Linked DNA regions of Homo sapiens: region 2 is linked to region 1. The links are contacts of gene promoters, found by promoter capture Hi-C in blood cells and fetal thymus (Javierre and others, 2016). All regions are on one chromosome and are shown on one strand. Each heading gives the region's core, a stretch centred on a gene start or on the middle of the fragment in contact. The rest is flanking DNA. Distances are from core to core; before and after follow the strand shown. Region 1 holds the start of CFL1 (cofilin 1). Region 2 holds the start of ZNHIT2 (zinc finger HIT-type containing 2).

The links. The method cuts DNA at HindIII sites, captures the fragments that hold promoters and counts their contacts. A CHiCAGO score of 5 or more calls a contact.
Region 2: a fragment that was not itself captured here is called in contact with the fragment with the promoter of CFL1 in region 1 in 1 of 17 cell types (fetal thymus); the score reaches 5.3 in fetal thymus.

The regions. Positions count from the first base shown.
Region 1 is chr11:65,856,930-65,860,364 of GRCh38, forward strand. It overlaps CFL1 (cofilin 1), which reads right to left and starts at 1,251. Exons shown (of 4, transcript NM_005507.3): 1 at 1,168-1,251. The coding sequence starts at 1,170. It also overlaps a transcript of MUS81 not described here. RefSeq lists silencers at 817-1,216, 2,627-2,706 and enhancers at 823-1,363, 1,297-1,346, 1,737-1,806, 2,367-2,456, 2,977-3,026 and 1 more. The HindIII fragment of the contact is 11,606 bases long and covers 1-3,350 here.
Region 2 is chr11:65,115,512-65,119,576 of GRCh38, forward strand. ZNHIT2 (zinc finger HIT-type containing 2) reads right to left here and starts at 2,190. Exons shown (of 1, transcript NM_014205.4): 1 at 892-2,190. The coding sequence starts at 2,142. The coding sequence ends at 931. TM7SF2 (transmembrane 7 superfamily member 2) reads left to right here. Exons shown (of 10, transcript NM_003273.6): 9 at 1-87; 10 at 382-719. The coding sequence ends at 542. RefSeq lists enhancers at 1-518, 519-1,063, 1,610-2,153, 2,146-2,440. The HindIII fragment of the contact is 956 bases long and covers 2,260-3,215 here.

The DNA of each region.
Region 1 (3,435 bases), core at 1-2,500:
CTCTGCGTCGTGCTTCGGGGTGCCCGAGCCAGGAGAGGGAGGGGCAATCCAAGGTAAATCTGGTCCCCCAAACTCCCCGGAACTGCAGAAGAAGCCGGCCACGTGACTCGGCCGCATCCGGAGTGGGCGGGGACAGGAGATCGGCTGGGCCCGGCCCCCTCACCAATGCAGAAACGCGTATCCGAGAGGCAGCAGCATCTCCAGGTCCCTAACCCTGTGGAATCGCCCTAAAACAACGGGTGTATCAGACCCATCTCCTGCAGGCAGGAGCCTGGGCAAGCTACATAACCTTCGGTTTTCTCAGCCCTCGGGCCGTATACAGGGGGCGGGGTGGTTTCCGGGCGGTGCCCGCCTGGGTCACTTCCCTAAACTCGGCTCCACCCTCACTCAGGCCCATCCGGGAAGGCCTCGCTGGCCCAGGGCTTCGGCACCGGCGGCCGGGCCTGAGCGTGCGCGCACGCGCCGACAGACAGCGCCGTTCCAGCCCTCGCCCGATGCACGGGTGAGAACGCAGCTCGTTAGATGCGCTCCCGAACGGGCCGCGGTCTCTGCGATGCCCCCTCCAAGCCTTGCGGTGCAAGGCCTTAATCGCAGGCACCCACGCCCCAACCGGGACCCCGTCTTCCCAGCATCACCCCTCGCCGCGCCAGCACCCGCCCCTCCCGGGCGCAGGCATCCCTGCCACCTGCTCCCGAGACGGACCCGGCTGCCGAGGGAGGGTGACGCGCAGACAGGAACAGCCTTGGGTGGGGCGCGCGCGCCGAGACCTCTCGCGCGCTTTTTCCTCGCCGCCCCCGGGCCGGGTTTGGACGCCGCATGCTCCAGTCGAGAGCGCGCCCCTAAGAAGAAAGGCGCGACGCCGGCCGTTCCGCGAGGGGCGCCCCAGCGCGCGCCCCGAACCCCTCCCCCCGCGGCCGGTGTCCGCGCGGGCGCACCAGCGGGTGGGGGAGGGGAGCCCAGGCGGAGCGCGAGCGACGTCCAGACCGGCCCTCCCCGGCGCCCACGGGCGCGCACGCGCATTCCGGCACCGCCCGCCCCTTCGTGCGAGACCCTCATCCCGCCCGGGGCGCTGGGGGAGGGGGTGCGGACGTCGCTCCCCAGTCGCTTCCCGCGCGCAGGCGACCGACCCGCAGCCGCCTCCCTCAGGCGCCGTGGCCTGCCGCTCACCATGTTTCCGGAAACGAAAAGGAGAGGGCACCGAGAGCCGCAGAAGACGAGAGCGCTGCAGCCGCTGCCGGGACCCGACTGAACGCGGCCTCTCCCGGCCCCTTCCGTTTAGTAGGAGCCGCACAATGAGGGGTGGGGCGGGCTTCCGGCGCTCCCACCGCGAGCCGACGGGAAATGGAGTCCGCTGGCCCTGCGCCGCCGCCTCGCTCGCTGGGTAACGGAGTCTTCCCGCCGGCCGGCTCCGAGCTGCAGTGCATGTAGGGAAATGTAGGCCCAGGTCCTGGGCGGCACCGCAGCGCGCAGCGCGAGCCCATTGGTCCAATTTCCCAGGAACCGCTCTGAGCCCGGCGAGGCGGCGCTCAGTAAAATGACCCGAAAACGATCCCCGACTAAGCGGCTCTTTATCCCACAGCAAAACGGCTTTCTTAAGACCCATCTGGTATTATCTGGATCCCTTGGCCTGAAATTTTTGAGTGAGGTTAGGGTTTTGCATTTCTGAATCGAAGCAACTATTGATTAGCCTGGAATCCCGACCTAAAGCAAAGGAAATCACAAGTATGAAGGCGTCGTCAGTCGGATAAACACTAGTACTCTGCATGTGTAAAGCCACTCTCGTCTCCTGAAAAAAGGCCATGTCCAACGTCAGTAAAACAAGAATAGGAGGAAAAGGCACAGGGGAAAGGTACAAGGAAATCTCTGAGAGCTTTGTTCTTGTTTAAAGATGTTTGGCAAAGTCATGAGGCGTTAAAGGGTAAAGACGAGGGTTTGTGCATTCAATTCAAGGCTTCTTTACATGCCTTTACGTGCCAATGAGAAGAAATAGATATTAAACCAGACTTGAACCCAGCTCTCGAGTTGATAGCCAGGTACATGGTTATTCTAACATCCGCAAAACTGAGACAAGTTCTGTGGTAGTATATGCCTTAAAAAAAAAAAGAAACGAGCGGGGGACTCCGGGATGATTTTGTTGTTCTAGAACAGTGACCACAGCCTCACACTCTGCAGGAAAAGACTGGGTCGCAAACAAGTCAGAGGCAAACCCAGAAAGGGAACTGGGGGCCCTAATCCTATAAACGGAATTAAGGGTGTAAACGGAGAGCGATGCCTGGGAGTGGGGTACCTTGCAGAGCATACCGGGGGTTGTAGTCGGGGACATTCCACAGCACCGCCCCCGCCCGGACTCCCGGCGCTCCAGGTGGAGACAGCAGCTTGACCCCGCCTCCCGCGAGCGACCCTACATGAATATGAGGCTAGCGCCCCCTTTTCTGAGCCTTAGAGTTTCCAAGAGCAACGGGGAGAGAGAGGGGGGCTTCGCAGTTACCCTGGAGACGCGCTCTCGCCCGCCCCCAGCCGCGGGATGCCCTAGATGTCCTTATTAGGACAAGAGACTCGAGGGGGCGGGGCCAGCCCGACAGCCGGCTTGAGGCTCCTTATAAGGCCGCGGCGGGCGGGAGGCGGGAGCCGGAGCCCATTGGTCCAATTTAGCTTGGCTGGGGCTACTGCGCCGTGGGCTAGGCACAGTCCTGAGGGGCGGGACTGGAGCTCTGGCGCCCACCTCTCCCTTCCTCGCAGGCTGGAGACCTGCGTGTTGCGACTTCCGGCATAGCAGCTAGAGGCCGGGTGCTGCTTCAAACCCTGGCGGGTCGCCTGTGTCCAACTCAGCTATACGTGTCTTTCAGGCTTCTCAGGTTGAAGCCCTTTGTAGGGTTTCCATCTTCAACCTCCCTGAGGGTCTCCCACTTCCGATTAGCCACAAAAATGACGAAGTGTTCTCCCCTCTACCTGTGTCTGGGCTTCTTAACCCGCAGCCTGCTCCTCCGCTCCCAAACCCAACCGCGTGCCCATCTCAGGCCTCCCCAACTGCCAGGATGCCCAAGCACCTCTTACTTACAGTCCTCCTTCCTCTAGGCCTCTGACCCCCGACATTCCGAGTTCTATTTTGGGCCTTCTCGGCACGTCCCCGACTTCCTCTCCACCACACACTCTTTGCCCTGTATCCCGGGGATGAGGATCACCATTTCCTCCAAGGGTCCTGCAGCTCCTCCTGCCTTACCTTTGTGTCCTCATCCCCGGCACCCATTTCTGGGTGTCCCTCCCACCAATACGTTTGCACCCGTTTGTCTCCTAGCCCCCGCCTCTCCTGGACTCTTTTCAAGACCAGTCTCCATCTCCAGCCTCCTTCAAGCTTGAGGCTGAAGCTGACAATCTTAAGAGACCTTAGAGCCGCCAAGCTCAGGTTAGTCCGTTAAGCGCCGCCCAGCCAGTCCT
Region 2 (4,065 bases), core at 1,488-3,987, 740 kb before region 1:
TGCTGGTGTCTGGGTGGTGGGGTATGGTCCGCCATCCCAACTATCTTGGAGACCTCATCATGGCTCTGGCTTGGTCCTTGCCCTGCGGTGAGTGGCCCATGTGGATATGGGTAGGGACATGTGAGGGGAAGAGGTGGCTCAGCGACCACAGGATGCCTACTTTGGGTATGCACCAGTGAGAGTAGTCAGAGAGCTGGGGGTGGACCCAGTGTGTGGCTGGGGCACACCTCTGTGCCAACCTAGTACCGTGTGCTTTGCTGCAGACCCTGGCGCTTTTGCTGCTGAGCCCCGATGCCCACATGAGCCATGAGGTGTGGAAACGTTTGTGAACTGCGGGGTGGAGGGGCCGGCAGGGTGGTCACAGAGCCTCCTTCTCTACAGGGGTGTCACACCTGCTGCCCTACTTCTACCTCCTCTACTTCACCGCGCTGCTGGTGCACCGTGAGGCCCGGGATGAGCGGCAGTGCCTGCAGAAGTACGGCCTGGCCTGGCAGGAGTACTGCCGGCGTGTGCCTTACCGCATCATGCCCTACATCTACTGAAGCGGCTCCACCACCCCAGGTGGGGGCATGTGCCCACTCATCCACCAGCACACCCAGGACCAGGAGCCTCGACACACTTGGGACTCAAGGGCTTGCACCCCACCCAGCCCTGAGGATGAACAACCTCAGAGAAGAGGTGGTTTAGAGCAAGGAAAAAAATGAAACCAGTGACCAAAATCGGAGATGCTCTTCCTCCTTTGGATAAACACTGGGAACCCTTGGTGCACTTCTCTCCCCTAGGACTGGCTGGGTCAGCACTGATCAGGGAGAAGCTGAGCAGTGGCTTGTGGGCCCAGGAATCTGGGGTCTGGTGGGACAATAGCTATCCCTCAGAAACAAGCAACAGGGCTGACCAGTCACAGCTTTATTAATGACCAGGGTAACCCGTTCAGCTAGGGAGCTCCTCAATGAGAGTTCTTGGGGCAGGTGGCACGGGGCCTCCCCAAAGCCGCTCCAGCTCCCCAGTGAGGGCGGCCACCTCCTCGGCTACCACAGCATGGGCTTGGTGAGCCCTGGCGCAGTCTAGGGCCAGGGGTGTGAGGGCCGCCTCATTTTCGTTGGTCCAGGCCAGGAGGAACTGGCACTTTTTCCGGGCCCGGTAAAGATGATCTCGCTCTTCTCTAGCCACGGCCTGTTTCCGGGCACGGCCCAGGGTCTGTGCCAGGTCCCCCAGTGCTGCCAGCGTGTAGCCTTTCTGGTTGGTCGGGCCCTCGCCCAGCAGGATGCGGGCGACCTCGTGCATAGCCCCTCGTGTGCCCAGGGGCCCCGGCGGGTGCTCGCCTGCTTCCAGCACGTGGGCTGCCGCCTGCAGGGCTTCTTCCGCAGAGGCGAAGACTTGCTGGGCACCCAGGGCTCCGGAAACGCCGAGCAGTGTGGCACAGAAGTCAGAGAGCAGCGCGTCGTCACCGCCGTGATACAGGGCGAGAGTATGCGCGTAGGCGAACAGCACATTGGGCAGCTGGAAGCGCACGAGCGGCGAGACTGGGCCGCGGCTCAGGCTGACTATCGCGGGGATGCGGGTGGGTACGACGGGCGTGCAGGCCCCCGGGACATCTCCAAGAACCCGCTCGGCGGCCGCGGGCTCCGCGGCGGAGGCATCTTTCACAGAATCCGGCGGGGTCCTCGCAGGGGCGAGCTCCAGCTCCGCGGCGTCACTACCCGGGGCATTATCCAGCTCCTCCAGAAGCTGCGGTCCGGCTCCGCGGTTCCACCACCACGGCCGCCATGGAGGCAGCAGCCGCCCGGCCTCACCGCGGCTCAGCAGCCGCTCGAAGGCAGCTTTTTCGCCCGGCGCCAGCCGCTCCCAGAGTCCCGATAGGCCGCCGGGCGCCGGGCCGGAGCTGAGGCCTGCTTCCCCAGGCTCGTCCTCGGTCTCGCGTTGCTGACGCAGCCGGCGTAGGGCGCTTGCTAGGCGGCTGGGAGGAGCGCTGCAACCGCGGAGCTCTCCCAGCACCTGGTCACGGTAGAAGTTTTCTGCGCAGGTGCCATGCGTCCGGTAGCAGCGCAGCGAGCAGTAGGGCGCATTACAGCGAGGGCAGGTGTAACGCGCTGGCTGGACCTCCCCCGCCGGGCAGAAGCCACAGGGCCCGGCCGGCTCCATGGCAACTGGCACCGCGATCTACCTGCGAACGCACGCCGGTGGTAGTTCGAAACTTCCGGGGCTTCTTCGATTACTTCCGGTTCGCAGCGCGGCCGACGGCGCGCTGTGTTTTCGCAAAGCTTCCGAGGATTCTCGGCAATTTCCGCCCACGCCCGAAAGCCAAGCCCCACCCCTTTCCCTAGTAGGGCGAGAGCAGGCCCAGAAGCCGGGCGTCAGGTACGAGCCCCGCCCTATGCGATGACGCAAGGAGCGAAAAAATGGGTCTGGCGAGCGCTTCGCCGGTGCCACGTCTCCCCCTAGTGGTCACACCAAAACGTGGCCCGATCATCTAAAGAGAAAACCCTCTTTTTAGCACTACAATGTGCTGTGGCATAAATCCATCTTTACTAGGCACCTACTCTGGGCCACTAATTGTGCCAAGCCTACGGGAGGCGATGCATCCCTGCGCTGGACACAGACAAATAAAATGCACTAGGGGACACAGACAAATAAAAGGACAGTTAGGGCCAGGTACGGTGGGTCACGCCGGTAATCCCAGCATTTTGGGAGGCCGAGGCGGGCAGATGACCTGAGGTCAGGAGTTTGAGACCAGCCTGACCAACATGGAGAAACCCCGTCTCTACTAAGAATACAAAATTAGCCGGGCGTGGGGGACGGGTGCTTGTAGTCCCAGCTACTCCTGAGGCTGAGGCAGGGGAATCGCTTGAACCCGGGAGGTGGAGGCTGCAGTTAGCCGAGATCGCGCCACCGCTCTCCAGCCTGCGAGCCTGGGCCACAGAGAGAAACTCCACCTCAAAAAGATAAATAGAAAGCAGCATTTAAGAAATATCTGAGCTCCTATGATTTTTTTCCTCCAAAACTGCCTCTTCTTTTCATTAAGTATCTTCTCATTAAATACCACTATTCATCCATCTTATTAAGTGCAGGCCCCATTCTAGGTGCCAAGAACACAATGCACATCAAAGGGAGCCGGGGGTCCCTGTTCTAATAGAGCTCACTCTTGTGGTGGAGTGGGGGGTGTGATGAACCAAACTGTGAGTGTTCTTTGCATCCCTGCTACTACTGGTGGTCTAAGCTTCCTGACCCCTCATGTGGATGACAACACATTAAGTGTTTTTCCTAACTTTCTTGCCAGCCCTCCAGAAAAACCTGCCAGAGAAATTAGATCACAAGTCAGATGAGATCCATCTGTTACTCAAAACCCTTCTGCGACCCTCCATTGCACTTGGACTCAAACCCAAACTCCTCTCTATGGCTGACAAGGCCTTGCAGGATCTGCCCGCCCCCAGCCCTAGACATCACCTCTTCCCCATCTTCACACAGTCCTCTAGGCTTGAAATATTCCCCTACCTGATCACTTGACTGGTTCATCTCAGGTCTCACTCACGTCATTTAAACAGGACCTCTCGGCTGGGCACAGCGGCTGACACCTGTAATCTCAGCACTTTGGGAGGCCAAGGTGGGCGGATCACTTGAGCCCAGTTCAAGACCAGCCTGGGCAACATAGCAAAACCCTGTCTCTACAAAAAAGTACAAAAAATTAGCCAGGTGTGGCGGTGCATGCCTGTAGTCCTCAGCTACTTTGGAGGCTGAGTAGGATCACCTGGGCCCAGGAGTTGGCGGCTGCAGTGAGCCATGATTGTGCAACTGCACTCCAGCCTGGATGAGAGAGACCTTGTCTCAAAAACAAAAAAGAAAAGGCCGGGCACTGTGGCTCATGGCTGTAATCCCAGTACTTTGGGAGGCCGAGGTGGGCGATCACGAGGTCAAGAGATCGAGACCATCCTGGCCAACATGGGGAAACCCCATGTCTACTAAAAATACAAAAATTAGCTGGGCGTGGTGGCACATGCCTGTAGTCCCAGCTACTCAGGGGGCTGAGGCAGGAGAATGGCGTGAACCCGGGAGGCTGAGGTTGCAGTG